Regions from separate parts of the Homo sapiens genome. Here all the other regions are linked to region 5. The links are contacts of gene promoters, found by promoter capture Hi-C in blood cells and fetal thymus (Javierre and others, 2016). All regions are on one chromosome and are shown on one strand. The core of a region is centred on a gene start or on the middle of the fragment in contact, and the rest is flanking DNA. Distances in the headings are between cores, read along the strand shown. Region 1 has its middle 40 kb from the start of RBBP6. Region 2 overlaps LCMT1-AS1 (LCMT1 antisense RNA 1). Region 3 overlaps RBBP6 (RB binding protein 6, ubiquitin ligase). Region 4 overlaps RBBP6 (RB binding protein 6, ubiquitin ligase). Region 5 holds the start of SLC5A11 (solute carrier family 5 member 11).

Region 1 (4,397 bases), core at 1,413-3,912, 270 kb before region 5:
TGCTTCATAATTTCCTGCTCATTGTTCAAGAGTTAGGTTGCTGTTACCAGGCGCGGTGGCTCACGCCTGTAATCCCAGCGCTTTGGGAGGCCGAGGCGGGCGGATCATGAGGTCAGGAGATCGAGACCATCCTGGCTAACACGAAGAAACCCCGTCTCTACTAAAAATACAAAAATTAGCCGGGTGTGGTGGTGGGCGCCTGTAGTCCCAGCTACTCGGGAGGCAGGAGAATGGCATGAACCAGGGAGGCAGAGCTTGCAGTGAGCTGAGATCGCGCCACTGCACTCCAGCCTGGGTGACAGAGCGAGACTCCGTCTCAAAAAAAAAAAAAGTTGCTGTTTTGGAATTATTCCCTCACAGTGCCCGCCCGCCCCCATACGTGCCTGAGGTGCGGTAGCATCCCTGGATATGCTGTAGTAACACCTTCCAAATTGTTTTCTGTGGGCTGTGTTTGGTTATCTCACTCACTGGACTGAGCATGACTTCCACAAAAAGTCTAGTTTATATTCCGGAAGCCAAACCATGCCTTGCACATAGTAACAAATGTTTGAAATAATGAAATTACCTTGTTTTAAACTTTGAGATTGTGTTTTGCCAAGCAAGTTAATTCTTACCCACACACTGGCCTAAAGAAATATGTGTAGAAGCTAGTAATAAGAGCAGACTTCACAGACAACCGGTGACATGTCCGTTTCTCAAGGGAGGGATTAATTTTTGGCCTACTGCAGGTTTGAAAAGTAGTATCCTTCAAGGACCTAGGTGTTTCTGTGTGCCAAGAATACTCCAGAGTGTTAAAATCAGGAGCTTAAAAATCACTCCTTTGCTAGTGTCAGCATGGCAAATGAAGGGAGCGAAACCTGCTCCAAAATATTTAAGCCAGGATTTCAGAGGAGCAAAAAGCTACTTAATAAACGTAATAGTTTATTCATCCCAGTCTGCGCAAGTGTCTCCGTGTACTTGTCCACTTTCCCTGTCTTTCAGCGCCTTTAATGAATGCTGTTCTTACTGTATAAAGCTAGACATAGAACAAAACCTCTGATTTGAAACATGTCCTTTCTGAGAGTTTTTATACCACTGCTCATTTACTTTAGCTTCAGCAGTTGTCTTATTTTTAACTAGAAAAAAGCCTCCTATATATAGTATGTATATATATACGTATGTATATGCGTGTATATATAAAATATAGAGAGCGAGCGTGTACCCTGCATTTTCTTTATGTCATAAACACATCCTTTGACATTAAATTTTTCCACAAACATTTTTAATTTTGAGAATTGGAATGGTCAGGAAAGAATAGACTTAAGGTCACCTACTTAAATCCTGGAGAAAGTGTACCATGAAGCTGCTGTATGTGAATAACTTCAGCATACGGATCTGAAAGAAATAGGATTAATAGGAACATTCAAAGACTTCAGGCAAATTCTTTCAGTATGGATCTAAAGTATAAACAGCTTATCAAGGCTCCTCTTTGATAAAAGCCTTTGAGATTATTTTTAGGATCATGTTAAAAGGACTTTTTAAAAATAACTATTGCTAATTCCTTTATGCACTTTACCTTTTATTAAATTTAATGAAGGGTGAACAGTGATCTCATATTAAAGCCAACACCAGCGTGAATCTTGCTTTTCCACTTTGCTTGAAATGTGGCTCTTTTGTAATTTACTATGAAGTTGGTTTGGCCAGTGTGAATGTTTTCAATTTAGGTTTCTATTTTTAAAGTCTCTGTGGTAAGATTTTCATATGAGAATGGACATACATTTAGAATTTAAAATCTTCTTTGGTAGAAACAACTGGAACCTTAATAATTTTTGGCGGGGTTGGGGGGGTTGTTTTTTTTTTTTGTTTAGAAACAGAGTCTCTCTCTCTCTCTGTTGCCCAGGCTGGAGTGCAGTGGCACAATCATAGCTCACTGCTTCCCCAACCTCCTGGACTCAAGCAATCTTCCCACCTCAGCCTTATGAGTAGCTGAAACTACAGGTGTGTGCCACCACACCTGGCTAATTAAAAATAATTTTTTTTTTTTTTTGTAGAGATAGGTCTTGCTGTGTTGCCCAGGCTGGTCTCAAACTCTTGGCCTCAAGAAATCCTCCTGCCTGGGCCTCCCAAAGTGCTGGGGTTACAGGGATAAGCCACCACACCTGGCCCATTAACAAAATTTTGATAATTGTTAAAATATGTTTTTACCTAGCTTAATGATATATAAAGCTGGTAGACTGATTTCTTTTTGTATCCTAAAAACTAAAACCAATAAACACAAATATGAAAAATGAAGCCAGGGAAAACTGTATTAGTGCTAGAAACTCAGGAAAAGACAGAAGGGGCAGACATAGCTAAAAATATGGCATTTCTGCCATAGCACCACATCTTAAAAGTTTTTTGTTGTTAATGGAGAGAAGGCGAAATAAAGACAACTGACAGTTCTCTCCTTGAGAAGGCAGATGGCCTCTTGGAAAGCTTGAATAGAAGATCTTGGGTATTAGGAACACACCATCATCTGAAGAAACAGGGATGGGCCATGGAGCAAATGAAGTTAATTTCCTTTGAAGTCACTTTGAATATGATGAAAATTGCACAAAGGAAACCTGAAGCGTAGGCTACCATGTTGACGGGGATGGAAGAAGATTCTGTCCAGAGACAGATTTGTTATAGCTGGTCTTGTTGCCAGGAAGGAGGCCGGATCACGCAGCCCTCATTCCCCTGGCTATTATGGGGGCTGAAGGGGGAAAATATGCAATTTTCAAAACATTATGGCACTGGTGCCAGAAGAGGCAGACAAGTCAGTGGAATTGAATACAACACCATAAATTGGCCCAAATATAATACACAACAGTTTGAGCATAAGTAAATGTGAAAAAGGATAGGTTTTTCAATAAGCTTTGAGTGAACTGGTTAACCACTTGGAGAAAAAAAAATCACATCTTAAAATTCTAGACTAAATATTGTTTATCCAAAATTTTATATATTTAGGATTTAAAATATTCTTTTGTATAAATTTTGGTACCAAAATAAAATGTTGATAATTGTGTGTTTTGACCTATCATATTACATTCCTGGATTATATTCTTCCCATCTTCTAGGATGACCATTTTTTGATAGGTTAAGAGTTTATTATTTCAACTGGCCAGTCAACTGGAAGCCCAGGAGCTTCCCCGATATTTTTGATAATGGTTATATGAGATCTGGTTTATCCTGATTTGCTCCTTTTTAATTTTCTGATGTCTCTTGTGCTGATTTTTCTCTTCAGAGCTTCTCATTATGGTACAGTCTCAATCTTTATACATTTTGTGACATTTCTGCCTATTTTCTGAGAACACATCACATCCTCTCATCTTCCTGTGCACACCATCGTCCCTTCTTTTCTGTTCTACTTCATAGTTTCTTCATCTCTGAAACTGAAATTAGCCATTATTTTTCTGAACCAAGGATGAATTATGCCATTAGAGGGCAGAAGAAGCTGCTTGTTCTTTAAACTAGCAACTGTTTCCCCCTCTGCAATTTTTTAAAATTACAATCTCAATTATTACACAAATAAACATCTGAAAATTTTAAATGCCACTAGCAGCCGGGTGCGGTGGCTCATGCCTGTAATCCTAGCACTTTGAGAGGCTGAGGCGGGTGGATCACTTGAGGCCAGGAGTTCAAGACGAGCCTGGCCAACATGGTGAAACCCCATCTCTACTAAAAATACAAAAAAAAAAAAAAAAAAAAAATTAGATGGGCATGGTGGTGCACACCTGTAATCTCAGCTACTAGGGAGGCTGAGAATCACTCCAACCCCGGAGCTGGAGATTGCGGTGAGCCACTGCACTCCAGCTTGGGTGACATAGTGCGACCCTGTCAAAAAAAAAAAAAAAGCCACTAACAATAAAACAGAAATGCCAACAAAACAAAATTCTGGTGCCTTCAGGCATTTAGAGTTACCTTTAAGTCCAAAACCAGTGTGATTCTCCATCTTCCCCCTCCCCCCACCGATATTGACTTTTCTACCAGGATATGTCTGTGGTAGTTAGCATTTTCATTAAATTTGCCCAGATCATAATACATTCTCAATTTTGCAGGCTTTAAGAATTTAATTTTTCTCACAAAGTTGTACATTGTTTAAAAAGTCATAAAGTTCTTCAGGACTTACAACAGGCCGGGTGTGATGGCTCACGCCTGTAATCCCAGCACTCTGGAAGTCGCGGTGGGCAGATCATCTGAGGTCAGAAGTTCAAGACCAGCCTGGCCATGGTGAAACCCCGTCTCTACTAAAAATACAAAAAATTAGCCGAGCATGGTGGTGCACGCCTGTAATCCCAGCTACTCAGGAGGCTGAGGCAGGAGAATCACTTGAACCCGGGAGGCGGAGGTTGCAGTGAGCCAAGATCACACCATTGCACTCCAGCCTGAGCAACAAG
Region 2 (3,620 bases), core at 224-2,723, 260 kb after region 5:
GAGAGAGAAGTTGAACAACAAATGCCATTCCCTGTCCATTTTATTTTTTTCATCATCAGTGACTAGGCCACTGACTGCCAGGGATGTGCATTTCTTAGGGGTCAGAAGAACAGAGAGCAGCAGCAGCGCAACAGTGCCACAGGAAACATCACTACCCTTGCTAGAACAATTACTGTTAGGACACAGGCAGGGAGCCATTCCTAAATCTTCCTGGGGTGATGGGTGATGGTCTCCTTCCTTGCCACAAACAACATAAAGGATTGTTCCCATGACTGTGCTGGGGGCACACTTTCCTAACAGTGTCTCTATGGCTGTCCCAAGCAGCTAGTGATGGTCACAAGGCTAGACGCAGTGACCAAAGAGTTCTAATCTGAACATCAGTGAGTAGAACTCAAGCACCCACTGGTTAGGATGTTGTGTTGCTGCTGCCCCCAGGTGGGAGCCTCAGAGACCACGTGGCGGACACACAGGCCACACCTGATGGCACCTACCAAGTTCAAGTGTGGCAAAAAAGAGAGCTCTGCTAATAAACTGAGCAACTTCCATTCAACTCCTGGGATTCATTCTGATTGGAACAACCTGGTTAGCCCTTCCCCCAATCCCCACCACCCTCTGAAGCATGACAAGGTGATTTTGGGTGCCAATTGGCCAGACCTTGGCAAGTTTCCACCCCTAGAGTCAGGCAAGGAGCCTTGCTTTTTTTTCTTTTTCTTTTTCTTTTTTTCGAGACAGACTTTCGCTCTTGTTGCCTAGGTTGGAGTGCAGTGGCACGATCTCGGCTCACTGCAACCTCTGCCTCCTGGGTTTAAGCGATTCTTCTGCCTCAGCCTCCTGAGTAGCTGGGACTACAGGCGCGCACCACCATGCCCAGCCATTTTTTGTGTTTTTAGTAGAGATGGAGTTTCACCATGTTGGCCAGGCTGGTCTTGAACTCCTGACCTCATGATCCACCCGCCTCGGCCTCCCAAATCCCGCCTCGGTGACTGGGATTACAGGTGTGAGCCACCACGCCTGGCCAGGAGAGAAGCTTAGTTTTCCATAAGAAGCTGTAGCTTTTTTTTTTTTTTTTTGGAGACAGTTTCGCTCTTGTTGCCCAGGCTGGAGTACAATAGCGCAATCTCGGCTCACCACAACCCCTGCCTTCAGGGTTCAGGCAATTCTCCTGCCTCAGCCTCCGGAGTAGCTGGGATTACAGGCATGCGCCATCATGCCTGGCTAATTTTTATTTTTAGTAGAGATGGGGTTTCACCATGTTGGTCAGGCTGGTCTCGAACTTCTGACCTCAGGTGATCCACTTGCCCCGGCCTCCCAAAGTACTGGGATTACAGGCATGAGCCACCATGCCAGCTTTTTGTTTGTTTTTTGAGACGGAGTTTTGCTCTTGTCCCCTAAGCTGGAGTTCAATGGCACGATCTCAGCTCACTGCAACCTCCACCTCCCGGGTTCAAGTGATTCTCCTGCCTCAACCTCCCTAGTAGCTGAGATTATAGGCGCCTGCCACCATGCCTGGCTAATTTTTGTATTTTTAGTAGAGACGAGGTTTCACCATGTTGGCCAGGCTGATCTCAAACTCTTGACCTCAGGTGATCCACCCACCTCGGACTCCCAAAGTGCTGGGATTACAGGTGTGAGCCACCGCGCCCAGCCCACTCTAGCTATTTTTTATAGAAGAAAGAGATACTGGAGAGCCAAAGCAACAATTGTCCATTGTAGCCTTTTGGGGAGAGATTCCATGGTGAATGCCTAACTTTTGGCCCACAATATTAATGTCCAAGAGCTTTTACACTTCCACAACTCTTCTCCTGACTTTGTCAAAAGATGCAGTCTAGTTGGCAGTGAACTTTCTCTGGCTGGGATATGGCTCAAAGACTACCCCAGCATTGTCTCTTGCATTAAGGTATCATTTAGCCTGAGATGGCTAAGCTTGCAATCTCCAGACTCCACGCTGTCATAAACTTTCAGATCCTCAACCAGGAACTTACATGGAATGAGCTGGCCCTGGAGGTCAGCTGGAAGATGGCCAAATTCCTCTGAATCACCAGCTATTTTGAATCAAAGGCTCATCCAACAACAAAAGTGTATAAACCCATCTGCCTCCGCCTTCTTCCAGTCACCCCCAGTCTCACTGTCCAGACCTGTGGGATTAACACCGTATAGTACTTGCTGTTAACACTTACTATCCACTAACACCCGTGGAATGTGGACACTGCTAAGCTGGGAGATGATGCTTGTGCAATAGTTTGTATTACCCTTTTGGCAAAGGACCACTCCAAGAAAATGGTGTATTTCATCCCATCAGCATTCCCCCTGGCAAAGCTCTCCACCCTTAGTCATTCCCCTCTTGTCATTTCTACTGTGGCTATCAATGAGATCTTGTGCCTCCATTAGAATACTGAGCTAGCATTTGATATTTGACCTCACTCCAAGGTGTGTATTCTGGGTTTCTGTTGTTGATTTTCTTTTTAAAAAAATGAGTGCAATTCAAAGTTCTTAAAGTATATCTGTTTCCTGCTTCCAACAACTGACAGATAACAAAATGGAATATACAAAGACATTTTTAATTTATAATGTATATTAAACATTATTATACATATACAACTTACAAGGGTTGCTTCTGGCTGGATTCTCTGCCAATCGCCCGAACACTGAGGATTCTGCTAGTTGTTCTGCCCTGAGTTAATTATAGCTATAAAATTTCATCACCAGCAAGAAACCAGGCGACTTCCCCAGTACATCTTGAATTTATACATATATTTTGTACTAGATTTAGTACAAAATAAATCCAAAACATCTTGAATATGCCTCATAATGAAACAGACACACGTGAACCCACTCCCACGTGAGAAACTGAGGATGTGTCTATGTGCTCCTTCCCTGCCTCTCCCTCCCCCTCTTGTGTGCTACCCTCCCGGCTCCCTAAAGATCACCAATATCCTGATTCTTTTTTATTTTTTTTTCTCATGTCTTGCCTTCTCTGTACAGTATTTTACCATATATGTACGTTTCTCTAAACAACATTAGTTTTACTTGGTTTGAACTTTACAAAAGTGTTGTTAGACTTCCTTCTTTCACTGAACATCGTGTTTCTGAGATTCAGCCATTGATGCTGCTACCTGGTAGCTCTAGTTCATTTATGATCGCTGCTACATGGCTTCCTATTGTATTACTTTTCCACACACTACTTCCCTCACTACATTTCTTTTCTTTCTTTCTTTTATTTATTTGTTTATTTATTTTTTTGAGACGGAGTCTCGCTCTGTCGCTCAGGACGGAATGCAGTGGCGCCACATGGGCTTACTGCAACCTCCGCCTCCCGGGTTCAAGCGATTCTCCTGCCTCAGCCTCCTGAGTAGCCAGGACTAAGGCGGCCGCCACCACGCCCGGCTAATTTTTGTACTTTTAGTAACAACGGTGTTTCACCATGTTGGCCAGGCTGGTCTCGAACTCCTGACCTCAGGTGATCGGCCCGCCTCGGCTTCCCACAGTGGTGGGATTACAGGAGTGAGCCACTACGCCCGCCCCCCTCACTACATTTCGAAGGCAATTTTGGGGGCAAAGCCCTCAGCACAGTCGCTGGCAGAGTCAGCACACAACAAAATTTTGTAAAATTGAATGACACT
Region 3 (3,981 bases), core at 151-2,650, 300 kb before region 5:
TATAATTTTAAAATCCCTAATCTACCATGTTTCTGTAAAACATTTCCTTACAGTTTTGGAATTATGTGCATGTTTAGGTCCCTTAAATCTTTTTTTTTTTTTTTTTTGGAGACACATCCTCACAGGCTAGAGTATAATGGCACAATTTTGGCTCATTGCAGCTTCAACCTACCAGGCCCAGGTGATCCTCCCACCTCAGCCTCCCAAGTAGCTGGACTACAGCCACACACCACCATGCCTGGCTAATTTATTGTAATTTTTTTTTATTTTATTTTGGTAGAGATGGGGATTTTGCCATGTTGCCCAGGCTGGTCTCCTGAGCCCAAGTGTTCTCCTGCCTTGGCCTCCCAAGGCCATCCCAAAGTGCTGGGATTATAGGCTTGAGCCACTGTGCCTGGCATAGGACCCTTAAATCTTGATAAGACTGAAACGCTTGGGTCAGAATTCCATGGATTTTAGACAAGAATCCTGCTTGTTTCTAGACTGTATTTCAAAATGAATATCAAGTAATCTTTGTTATATATGAGAAACTTTTCTGCACACCGACCCCTAAAAAACAAAACATCCTTCGTTCTGAAATTAAAGTGTGAGAGGTTTGGAAGCTGAATATGAAGTGTTTATAAATGACCCTTGTCACCTTTCTTACTCTCCATTTCTCGGATTCATTCTGTTTTTCATTTCATCCATGCCTTTCATGTCTGGGGTCAAAAAAACTGGCAAGCAGAAAGGGTCTTTTGAAGCCAACAGACTACTTGTTAAGGAGGTATTTTAAATGAAATACCCCCAAAGTGTCTTTATTACCCCTAGAAAGATACTTTGAGGGGTAAGAAATCATTGTAATTCAGGTATTTAAAAAGTCAGTTAGAACATCTGTTTTGAAGGGCATTGAGGCACCTTTTAGTTTGACACAGTACGGTGCTAATCAAATTAATAAGCTGTCTTGGAAAGCTCTTGTGAGTGCATTGAGTTGTTACATATTCAGAAACTTCCTGTCAGGTGTTTGACACAAAGTTTTATTTCTAGAATTAACTTTTAAAAAAATCTAGTCACCCCATGCTCTCAGTTTTTCTGACTCAAAGCTTCCTCGGAATTTGGGGCTATCATGAACTGTCCAAGATAAAGATTATAGTCCTACATTGGCATGCCTAAATCTAGGAAATTGCCTACCTCTAATTGAATGCCTGTGAGATAGTGCCTTCTACTTGAAGTATATAGAAAATAACCCTTGCCTGAACAATTTCATTTCTAACAATACTATTAGCATTATGACTAAAAATAATTAATATACATTAAAAGCCGAATATGCCTACATATGTGGTAAGCGTAATAATCGGAAGAACAGAGATAGTCACTTTGTGCAGAGTAACTTTAAGTGAAGCAAGTAAACTTAATGACAATAAAAAGGCCTGGTTGTGTGATTAAAGGAGATGGATACATTTTTGCATCTCTAGGTAATTTTTCTTTTTGGTAATTTTACAGATTCTTTCTGTAGCAAATCTTTTTACCATAGTTAAGGTCCATTTTCTTAATTTCATTCTTATACAAGTATTGCAAATAGCCCAAGGAGTGTAAAAATAGGATCCATTCTTCTCCCTCTTGGTTTTCCCAGAAGGTGACATCACTGTTTATCCGATGACTGAAGCCAGGAACCCAGGGATTCCTCTGGCCTGATTCCTCTTTCTTCTTCATTTCCTTCATCTCCCCCATATTCGGTCCATCAGCAAGCTTTGTCAATCCTACCTGCAAACATTCTGTCTTTATTTCTCACATCATAACACAGGTCGTCATTATCTCTACCTGGATTTTTTAGCAGCCTGGTTATTAGTCCCCTGGTTTCTACTCTTGTTCTCCTACAGTTTGTGCTCCACATTGGTGCCACAGTAGTCTTTTTTTGAGACAGAGTCTTGCTCTGTCACCAGGCTGGAGTGCAGTGGCGCGATCTCGGCTCACTGCAGCCTCCCAGGTTCATGCCATTCTCCTGCCTCAGCCTCCTGAGTAGCTGGGACTACAGGCGCCCACCACCAAACCTTCCTAATTTTTTTGTATTTTTAGTAGAGATGGGGTTTCACCGTGTTAGCCAGGATGGTCTTAATCTCCTGACCTCGTGATCCGCCCCCCTCAGCCTCCCAAAATGCTGGTATTACAGGCGTGAACCACCGCGCCTGGCCAGTAGTCTTTTTTTCTTTAACAAAAAGCAAATAATCACTTTGCTTAAAATCCTTCAGTGTCTTCCTGTTGCACTTCAAAACAAAATATAAATCAGTGTATGGTCTATACCTTTCTGTCATTCTTTTCTTTTATTTTCTTAGGCTCTTCAAGCCGTTTCGTATCATTTTTCTACATGCTTTTTTTATCCTTTGCCTGAAATAGTCCTCAACCAGTTTTTTTCCTGTATCTGGCTGGGTTCTCAGTCTTTAAGTATCCAGTAGAAGTTCCTCCAAGGGGCTTTCTTGGAATCAACATTCTATCTGAAGTTGTATTCCACTATTCATTCCTTATTAGAAAACCATTTTCTCTTTATTCATAACGTCATAATTTAATTTTTAGTCTATCTTCCTCAGTAATAATTTCTGTGAATGCAGGGATTGTAATACTCAACTAACGTTTAGGGACTAGGAGAGACAGAATATCTTCATTCCGAATAACGGCTTTTTCACCATTCACATGTTCAGCATTTCAGACTAAACTAAAGAATGACGGTGTTACTGAGATTTGGAGTTCCACAAAAGTAGAAGTGCTAGAGCCAAGAACCTGCTGATGATATTGGTTGTCCTTTGAAAAGAAGCCCTCTTAGGGCTTTGGATGTTTGTTCTGACAATATCAGTAATCTAGTTGCAAGGAACTTGTAGTTATTATATTTAAAGTCATTTCCCATGAAATTTATATTTGAAGTTTTCTAATTCTTGGTTACGCACTCAAATCCCCAAATGGAAATTCAATTCTGTCTTTTTATTTACAGAATATACTGATGATAATGCTCTGATTCCTAAGAATTCTTCTGTAATTGTTAGAAGAATTCCTATTGGAGGTGTTAAATCTACAAGCAAGACATATGTTATGTAAGTATCAAATCTCATGTATTTCTCAAAATAGACTTTTTTTAGTTTTTTTAATTTTGTGAGAAAAAACTGTATTTTAGAACTGAACTCATTACTTTAACCTTAATGAATACATCTTCTCAAGACTGTGAGGATAGTAGGTTTCTTTGTTCGTTTGTTTTTGATTTCCTCCCCCAGTTAAATTGACTTAGCCTGTTGTGAGAGGGCCATTATTAGGAAAAATTTTTCTCCATATGGCCAGTATTTACAGATACAAGAAAGTGATATTCACATTATTTCTGTGCCTTTCTTTGACTACTTTTTTTTGTGGGGGTTCCTTCAGTTTTCTTCACTACAAAAATTTGGTGTTGTAGACATCGGTCCTAAATATTTTGACAGCATCAAGAGTATTCAGTAATGCTAACATTTACTCTTTATCAATAAGGGGCTTTGGCTGAGAGGCATAAAGTATATAGGATTTATAATCATGGGCACTGAAATCAGGCTTAGATTTGACTCCATTTACTGCTTCATACCAGTTGTGTGACTTTGGACCTTGGGTAAGTCTCTGTGCCTCAGATTCCTCAAAAATAAAATAGGGACGTGAGTACTTAACTCTAGAGGGTTGTAAGAATTAAATAGTGTCTGGCACATGCTAAATGCACATTATTGGAGTAGGAAGAGAGCAGTCTCACAACTAGTCCGGAGCTGGTATTCACTAACCTGGGGCAGGATTAAAACCTTATATCCTTAACTTTCTCTGCTTTCTTGCAATTTCAGTAGTGATAGCAGAACTATAATATGTGAAAAGGGCAGCAACATAGGTTATTTAAAGAGTAGTGATTTTCACTTAGAATTAGGTAGTATTGTTTGAAATTGGAACAAATTATTTTGAGTCAATGAAAAATTCTAGAATTTGCCAGTGCTAGGGAATGGAAAGTGT
Region 4 (4,075 bases), core at 1,369-3,868, 280 kb before region 5:
GAGAAGTCTGTTTTTCTTGCTGTATCTTTTTTAAACAATAACCTGTTTGTCCTTTTAAATTCTAGAATTGACTTCTGTACCTTCATCAGGGTGACTATACTGAGGTGTTTTTCTTAATATAGACTTTTTGTTTCCTGTATGTTTTAAGTGGTATCCAGAATTTTAAAACTTTTTTGGGCCTTAGATAATTCTGGAAATATTTTTAAGTGGTATCTAAATCTTTTTCCTGGATTGTGAATAGCTTATCCTAATATTTCTAAGTGTATTAACACCTGATTCCTGTAGACAGTTTTTGTTTTTTTTTTTTTTTTTTGAGACAGAGTCTCACTGTCTCCCAGGCTGGAGTGCAGTGGTGTAATCTCGGCTCACTGCATCCTCTGCCTTCTGGCTTCACACAATTCTGCCTCAGCCTCCCAAGTAGCTGGGACTGCAGGTGCCCGCCACCACACCCGGCTAATGTTTTGTATTTTTAGTAGAGACGGGGTTTCACTGTGTTAGCCAGGATGGTCTCGATCTCCTGACCTCGTGATCCGCCCACCTCGGCCTCCCCAAGTGCTGGGATTACAGGCGTGAGCCACCGCGCCCGACATCTGTAGACATATTTATTACCCAGCATTTACCATGCAGTTGTGACTTTTTAAATCACTTATATTAGCACTTAGTTGTTTCCTGCCACTTATCCTAAGTTTGTGCCTTCTTACACAGAAGAAATCAGTGTTACCTGAAAATTTGCTCAAGCCTGCTCTGGCCTTTTTCATTTTTAAAGGTAGTTTTGAAATATACAGTCCTCATACACATGGTTCTGCATCTGCAGATTCAAAACCACAGATCATAAATATTTGGGGGCAAGAAAACAGTAAAAAATAATAGTAAAGACTAATACAGATTTTAAAATAAGAGTATAACAACTATTTACATAGCATTTATATTGCAGCAGGTATTACAAGCAATCTAGAGATTATTTAAAGTATACTGGAGGATGTACATAGTATTATATGCAAATACTATGCCTTTGGGGCAGTTGAGTGACTTGAGCATCTACAGACGTTATCTTCAGAGGGTTCTGGAACCCATCCCCTTTGGATACCTGTAAATCTTTATTTTTTGACCTCTTCAGTGAAGACCAAGGTCAAGAAGAGGTTGCTAAAGACTTGTTTCAGATTATATCTTAGATTTAACATACCACTTGGTATTACTGGAGTTTTACTACATTGAAGCTTAATCTTCGTATCTGTAATTTAGTGTTGCTCCCACGTACTGTGCTGTAGGTCTCTCATTTCCTTGCCTGAATAAAAACCCCAAGTTAGCCATGTAAAATTTTTGTCTTTCTAGACTATCTTATATTTCTCTTTTGTTTTCTACAATATTCCAGTTACTAGCTAAACAAAGAATAGTCTTTGAGAAAGAGTGCTTTTGCTCTCAATTCAGACATTTGTTTAAAAAAAAAAAAAGATGGGGTGGGGGATCCTTGCTATTTTGCCCCAGGCTAGCCTTGAACTTCTAGGCTCAAGTGATTCTCCTGTCCCAGCCTCCCCAGGAGTGGGGATTACAGGCACATGCCAGCACACCCAGCTGTGACTTCTTTTTAGCGTAGCATAGGTCATATAGAAAAGAGCAGAGGAGTACTGTAAGATGAGAGATTTTACTTAAGTTTCTTAATCTAAGAAATGATTAGCACGACATGCTTGGAAAACAGTAATGTAACTGAACAAATGTGGACCATCCTTTTAATTCATTTCGTAAACACTTTGAGTTCCTACTATGCTTTTATTAATATTTGAAATCTTATACATAGGTATAAGAACAGCACTCCTGGAATCAGATGAGCACACATGTCCGACGTGTCATCAAAATGATGTTTCTCCTGATGCTTTAATTGCCAATAAATTTTTACGACAGGTAACTGTCTGTATCCATTTTATGAAAAAATTCTTTTTAACTGATTTAACTGTACTTCAGTGAATACTGCATAACATTTTTCTGCATTATTATGCTTGGTATCTGTAGGCTGTAAATAACTTCAAAAATGAAACTGGCTATACAAAAAGACTACGAAAACAGTTACCTCCTCCACCACCCCCAATACCACCTCCGAGACCACTGATTCAGAGGAACCTACAACCTCTGATGAGATCTCCGATATCAAGACAACAAGATCCTCTTATGATTCCAGTGACATCTTCATCAACTCACCCAGCTCCGTCTATATCTTCATTAACTTCTAATCAGTCTTCCTTGGCCCCTCCTGTGTCTGGAAATCCGTCTTCTGCTCCAGCTCCTGTACCTGATATAACTGCAACAGTATCCATATCAGTTCATTCAGAAAAATCAGATGGACCTTTTCGGTAAGCCTGTGTGTTTTTCACTGTTAGAAACCAAATGAGGTCAATGATGTAGTGTTTTGTTGTTGGTTATCACTTTTAACAGCTTTCTTAGTGGACCACTGTGCTCAGTAATGTGGGATGACTTGTAAGAAGTGACTTAGTCTTATTGGGGGAAGAGGAAAACAAACGTGATTGATTTGGCAAATGAGGATTAAGCATCCTGAGGTCAAATACTACACAGGTTGCCAACCAGCCCCTATTAAACGTTGAATGTTCCATATACCATAACAGCTCTGAACTTAACAGAGGTGGGAGAATTCACTTGTGATCATAATGATAGTTTTGGATAGGAGTAGTTTTGAGTAGAACTAAGAACAGTTTAGATAGGTAGAGAAGAGGGGGTAAAAACACAGGTAAGTAGAGAAGTCAGGAATAGTGATTGTTTTGGAGCATAATTATTATGTAGGAGAATAGTGAAAACTCACAGCCTACCACTTCAGAAATGAGACTTTTGTCCATGTAGTTTAATGTCTCATAAATTCTTTAAAAAAAAAAAAAAAAGGTGTAAGAGGCCCATTTCAGACACACTGAAGCAAAATCTTTAGGATGAGACCTTTACATTTACATTTAAGAAATTCCACTGATCTGGTGGAATTTATTTGGTTGATAGTGGAAATAGGCCCAGAGAGTTCTATGGCTGACCCAAGATTATCCTTTCAGTTTAGTGGTAGAACTAGAGCTAAAACTTAACTCTTAATCCTAGGGGGATTTTTGTCTTCATAGGCCAGACTTTGATTTTAAGTTTTACTATTCTTGCAACTGATTTCTGTCATAACTGTAGTATCTTCTTAAGGAGGTCCTTCATTTTACTTTTCCACTTACTACATATAGAGAACTCTTCAAAGTTTCAGCCTTCTCTCACTTTCCTCAGAAGTATTCATCATCTTTGACTTAACTCATCTTAACTGCAGGTGATGGGTAAACAGCAGCAAACTTTTTTACTCTTAATTGTCCATTTCTGATAATTTTTAATGTATTATAATTTATGTTTTTTAAAGGGATTCTGATAATAAAATATTGCCAGCTGCAGCTCTTGCATCAGAGCACTCAAAGGGAACCTCCTCAATTGCAATTACCGCTCTTATGGAAGAGAAGGTAAATTTTACTGGTGCTTTAATTTGGGATTTTTTTTACAGCAGGGTTTTGTTTTTCTGGCTTTGTTCTTACCTCTTTTTTTTTTTTTTTTTTAACTATTTCTGTTTATTTGTGGTTGTTTCTAAAGGGTTACCAGGTGCCTGTTCTTGGAACCCCATCTTTGCTTGGACAGTCATTATTGCATGGACAGTTGATCCCCACAACTGGTGAGTAAGATCACTTTGGTTTAGACCTTTTTCCCTTTAAAAAATAATTTTAGCTTGATTTAATGTGCAATTTTGTATTTACCTACTGCTTTTATTTTTTGTTTCTAGGTCCAGTAAGAATAAATACTGCTCGTCCAGGTGGTGGTCGACCAGGCTGGGAACAGTGAGTAGATGTTTACAATAATCTTCAGATGATTGCCTGCAAACTAGATAATGGAAGGTCCAAACTAGGCAAACTAGATAATGGAAGGTCCAAACTAGGCAGCGGGTCGCTGCTCTTTATTGTAAACTTTCATGTGCCAGATTAACATTTTTTATGTAAAATGTCAAAATTCAAGCTTATATGAGGGTTTTTTTTAAATGAGCAAATCTTTTCTAAAATACAAAATT
Region 5 (4,044 bases), core at 1,139-3,638:
ATTTTTGTATTTTTAGTAGAGACGAGTGCAGGCTGGTCTTGAACTCCTGACCTTGTGATCCACCCACCTTGGCCTCCCAAAGTGCTGCGATTACAGGCATGAGCCACCGCGCTCGGCAAAGTGTATGGTAACTTTATAAGAAATGTCCAAATAGTTCTCTAAAGTGGTTATACAGTTCTTTTTTTTTTTTTTTTTTTTTTTGAATTGAGATCTCATTCTGTTGCCTCGAGTGTAGTGGCACTATCATGGCTCACTGCAGCCTTGAACTCCTGGGCTCAAACGATTCTCCCACCTCAGTCTCCTGAGTAGCTGGGACTACAGGTGCACACTGCTATGTCCATCTAATTCTTCCTATTTTGTGTAGAGATGAGGGTCTCACTGAGTTACCCAGACTGGCCTCTAACTCCTGGCCTCAAGAGATCCTCCTGCCTCAGCTTCCCAAAGCTCTGAGATGATAGCATGAGCCCCTGCACTCCACCTCTCCTATTCTTTATAGCACTGAGGGTAAAAATGAAAAACCTGACAGAGAAACAATCGGAGGTGACAAGCCAAGGGTCGAGCAGGCCACATCTGGCCCTCAAGGATGCGTAATCATGAAACTTTGCAGAACTTCTCTAGAACAATCAGAAGTTCTGACCCCATTGGGCCTGTCTTCCCCCACGTGGAGCTGGGTCGTGGCTGTCCTCTTCAGCTGGGACACATGCTCTCGGGTCAGCCTCAGCTCCACCTGCCCGGCTTCACTCACTACCACGCCTCTTCTGTAGACACCCTGCACATGGCTAAGGCTCCCCAGACATTCCCAAGAAGTCAGGACTGGACCCCAGGTTGGCGAAGCAGTGCACCCTCGGTGGCACCCCACTGCCTTTCCTGGTGCTGTGGCCTCTGCTGCAGATCACAGATTCATGGCCTTCTGTCTGTCCCTCTTCTCCAATCCCAGCTGTTCCTTCTGTAAATCTGTCCCCCAGGGCAGGTCCCTCCCCCAAAGGCCCCATTCATACTGGTGTTGGTCAGTCACCCAGTGTTTGCTCACCCAGGCCACCCTTTATCCAGTCAAGCCACCCTCCACTGCTCCTGCAGGACTCTAGAGCCAGGTGGCCTGGGCTGAAATCTTGCTGTGTCACTTACAACCCGGGTGATCCTGGGCCGATGACTCATCTCCTCTACCTCTGTTACCTCGTCAGTAAGATAGAGATAACAGGACCTAACTTCGAGGGTTGTTGGAAAGACCAAGTGAGTAAAGGCATGTTGTGCCCTTAGAGCCTGGCACGTGTTCATCACTGCTATTATTTCTGGCTACTCGGTGCCAGGACAGGGGCCTCAGCTGAGGGCCCCCCAGAGCCTGGCAGGCCCAGTGAAGGAGTGAGATGGGGAGGCCACGACTCCTCCCCAGTCAGCAGCTGTCCTGTGGCCATGGGGGCCTGGTGAGGCCAGATCTTCAGGTTGTTCTAGAAAAGTGAGTATTCTAGAATTATGTTTCAAGCCTCTTGGTTTGCAAATACTAGTAACTATTTTTAAAATGTTTTGGTATTTGGCCTGGCACAGTGTTTGACCCCTGTAATCCCAGCACTTTGGGAGGCCAAGGTGGGAGGATCACTTAAACCCAGGAGTTGGAGACCAGCCTGGGCAACATAGCAAGATTCTCTCTCTACCAAAAAAATGAAAAAATTAGCTGGGTGTGGTGGTGCACGCCTGTAGTCCCAGCTACTCGGGAGGCTGTGGTGGGAGGATCACTTGAGCCCAGGAGGATGAGCCTGCAGCAAGCTGTGATGCCACCACTGCACTCCAGCCTGGGTGACAGAGTGAGATCCTGTCTCAGAAATAAAAAGTAAATAAAGTTTTGGATGCTTTGAGCATCTGGCAGAAATCTTCGCTATGCCCCGCTGATGTCCTGGGCCCGATGTGGGCGCCTGGCCATGGCTCGGTCACTCCTGACGGTTTTTCAGGGCCTCAGACACCTCTTCTTCTTCTTCTTCTTCTTTTTTTGAGACTGATTTTCGCTCTTGTTGCCCAGGCTGGAGTGCAATGGTGTAATCTCGGCTCACCACAACCTCCGCCTCCCGGATTCAAGTGATTCTCCTGCCTCAGCCTCCCGAGTAGCTGGGACCACAGGCATGCACCACCATACCCGGCTAACTTTGTATTTTTAGTAGAGATGGGGTTTCTCCATGTTGGTCAGGCTGGTCTCGAACTCTCGACTTCAGGCAGACACCTGTTCTTTGCCATGCCTCTGTCTGAAGAGTATATGGAAAGGGGTTGCACAAGCAATGGTTGCTGTTCCTGTTGCTGCCACTGCGGTGAGGGCTGTGGCTGGACGTCCCTCCTGGCACTTTGCCTCTGTCCCCTCCATCCGCCGCCAGCATTTTTCCTCCCCTCCCCTTCCTCCAGCTCGTCCCAAGCCTGCCTGTCCCCAGCGTGGAGGCGGGACAGTGGAAGACTGGGTGAGTGAAGCAGGATGGTGCCTTGGGCTCCAGCGTCTCCCCAACCCCTCCATGCCATGGGTCCCCACGCAGGTGAGGACCCTGGTGGAGGACGGTGTGGGCAGAGCGTGGGACATGTCACCTTCCCCACCTGCTCAGAGTTCAAGGGTCCTGGGCTGGGCCCCGTTCTCTCTTCTGCCCTGGGGAGATCATTCACGCTTCCTTTAATCCCCGCTGCAGCTGAGGCTGGAGTTTGGAGTTTGACCCGCTTGGAGGCTCTCTCAGCAGCGGGCATATAGGAGGAAGGGTCACTGCTGTCTCCGGAAGCTCTTGGCTGCAAAGAGAGAGGATCCCGGGTATCTCCCTCCTTACAACCACCGCCACCTCCTAGTGCCTTAGAAGCCACTGACAGCCCCCAGGGCAGGTGAGCCCTGCATCTGGAATAAGGTAAGACACCCCCTGCCCCCAAACAGGTAGCCACTCTCCAAACTGGGAAGTTGGTCTGGGGACAGGTGCTGGCAGAAGGACTCCAGCTGTCACCTGTGGGGCAGGGGAAGCTCAGCCCTCTCTGCAGAGAAAGCTTGTCATACACCAGGACAATGGAGTGTGTTTGTGGGGTGGGCATGGTGGTATGAAGCCAGCAGCCGGCAGCCAGCAGCACCGTACGTGGGTCCCAGCTCTTCCACTTAACCAAGGTCAGGGACATTGAGCCAAACATTTTGCCTCACCGAGTCTCAGGTTCCTTATCTGTCAAATGGGAATATGAACCTCAGGCTGACCCACCCCACAGGTGTGTTACCCAGAGATAACGAAGGTAAATGTATCCACATAAGCATTAAAAAGCTATAGGAATGTATTTACTACAACTGCAGCTGCTGTTAACTACAAGGCAAATACAAGTCTTCACTGGTACGTGTCAGACACGTGCAGAGAACTTTACGCCTGGATCTCATCTAACTGACACAGAAACCCTGTAAGGTAGGTACAGCACCCCCTAATTCATGGACAGAGTCTAAGGGTCATTAAATAACTTGCTCAAGGTAATACAGATAGTGAGTGGCCAAGCCAAGACTCAATTCCTGTGGCCATGAGCTCAGCCACAATATCAGTGATTTTCTTTTTCTTTCCTTTCTTTCTTTTTCTCTTTCTTTCTTTTTCTTTCTTTTCCTTTCTTTTCTTTGTTCTTTCTTTCTTTCCTTCTTTCTTTTATTTCTTTCCTTATTCCTTTCTTTCCCTTTCTTTCTCCTTCCTTCTTTCCTTCCTTCCCTCCCTCCCACCTCTCTGTTTCTCTTTCTTTTCCCTTTTTTCTTTCTTTCTTTCTTTCTTCTCTCTCTTTTATTATTTATTTCTTCCTTTCTTTCCCTTTCTCCTTCCTTCTTTCCTTCTTTGCCTCCTCTCTCTCTCTGTGTGTGTTTTCTGTTCTCTCTCTCTCTCGTTTCTTTTCTGTCTTTTCTTTCACAGGGTCTCTCTGTGTTGCCCAGGCTGAAATGTAGTACTATCATAGCTCACCAGCATGCCCTGCTAACTTTTTTATTTTTATTTTTTGTACAAATGGGGTCTCCCTGTGTTGCCTTGGCTGGTCTCAATCTCCTGAACTCAAGCGATTCTCCCGCCTCAGCCTTGCAAA

Evidence for each region. The method cuts DNA at HindIII sites, captures the fragments that hold promoters and counts their contacts. A CHiCAGO score of 5 or more calls a contact.
Region 1: a contact is called between a fragment that was not itself captured here and the fragment with the promoter of SLC5A11 in region 5, in 1 of 17 cell types (endothelial precursors). The highest score is 6.8, in endothelial precursors.
Region 2: a contact is called between a fragment that was not itself captured here and the fragment with the promoter of SLC5A11 in region 5, in 1 of 17 cell types (endothelial precursors). The highest score is 5.0, in endothelial precursors.
Region 3: a fragment that was not itself captured here is called in contact with the fragment with the promoter of SLC5A11 in region 5 in 1 of 17 cell types (endothelial precursors); the score reaches 5.6 in endothelial precursors.
Region 4: a fragment that was not itself captured here is called in contact with the fragment with the promoter of SLC5A11 in region 5 in 1 of 17 cell types (endothelial precursors); the score reaches 5.0 in endothelial precursors.

Annotation. Positions count from the first base shown.
Region 1 is chr16:24,577,413-24,581,809 of GRCh38, forward strand. No RefSeq gene overlaps it. Among named protein-coding and RNA genes, the nearest start is that of RBBP6, 40 kb to the left of the region's middle. The HindIII fragment of the contact is 420 bases long and covers 2,453-2,872 here.
Region 2 is chr16:25,107,749-25,111,368 of GRCh38, forward strand. The region is part of intron 1 of LCMT1-AS1 (LCMT1 antisense RNA 1); the gene reads right to left. Among named protein-coding and RNA genes, the nearest start is that of LCMT1-AS1, 2.0 kb to the right of the region's middle. RefSeq lists an enhancer at 3,417-3,620. The HindIII fragment of the contact is 896 bases long and covers 1,026-1,921 here.
Region 3 is chr16:24,543,204-24,547,184 of GRCh38, forward strand. It overlaps RBBP6 (RB binding protein 6, ubiquitin ligase), which reads left to right. Exons shown (of 18, transcript NM_006910.5): 2 at 2,960-3,059. Among named protein-coding and RNA genes, the nearest start is that of RBBP6, 5.6 kb to the left of the region's middle. The HindIII fragment of the contact is 646 bases long and covers 1,078-1,723 here.
Region 4 is chr16:24,559,817-24,563,891 of GRCh38, forward strand. RBBP6 (RB binding protein 6, ubiquitin ligase) reads left to right here. Exons shown (of 18, transcript NM_006910.5): 9 at 1,796-1,899; 10 at 2,008-2,345; 11 at 3,383-3,479; 12 at 3,607-3,685; 13 at 3,794-3,848. Among named protein-coding and RNA genes, the nearest start is that of RBBP6, 22 kb to the left of the region's middle. The HindIII fragment of the contact is 2,806 bases long and covers 1,216-4,021 here.
Region 5 is chr16:24,843,575-24,847,618 of GRCh38, forward strand. SLC5A11 (solute carrier family 5 member 11) reads left to right here and starts at 2,389. Exons shown (of 17, transcript NM_001352248.3): 1 at 2,389-2,438; 2 at 2,658-2,864. The HindIII fragment of the contact is 4,984 bases long and covers 1-2,995 here.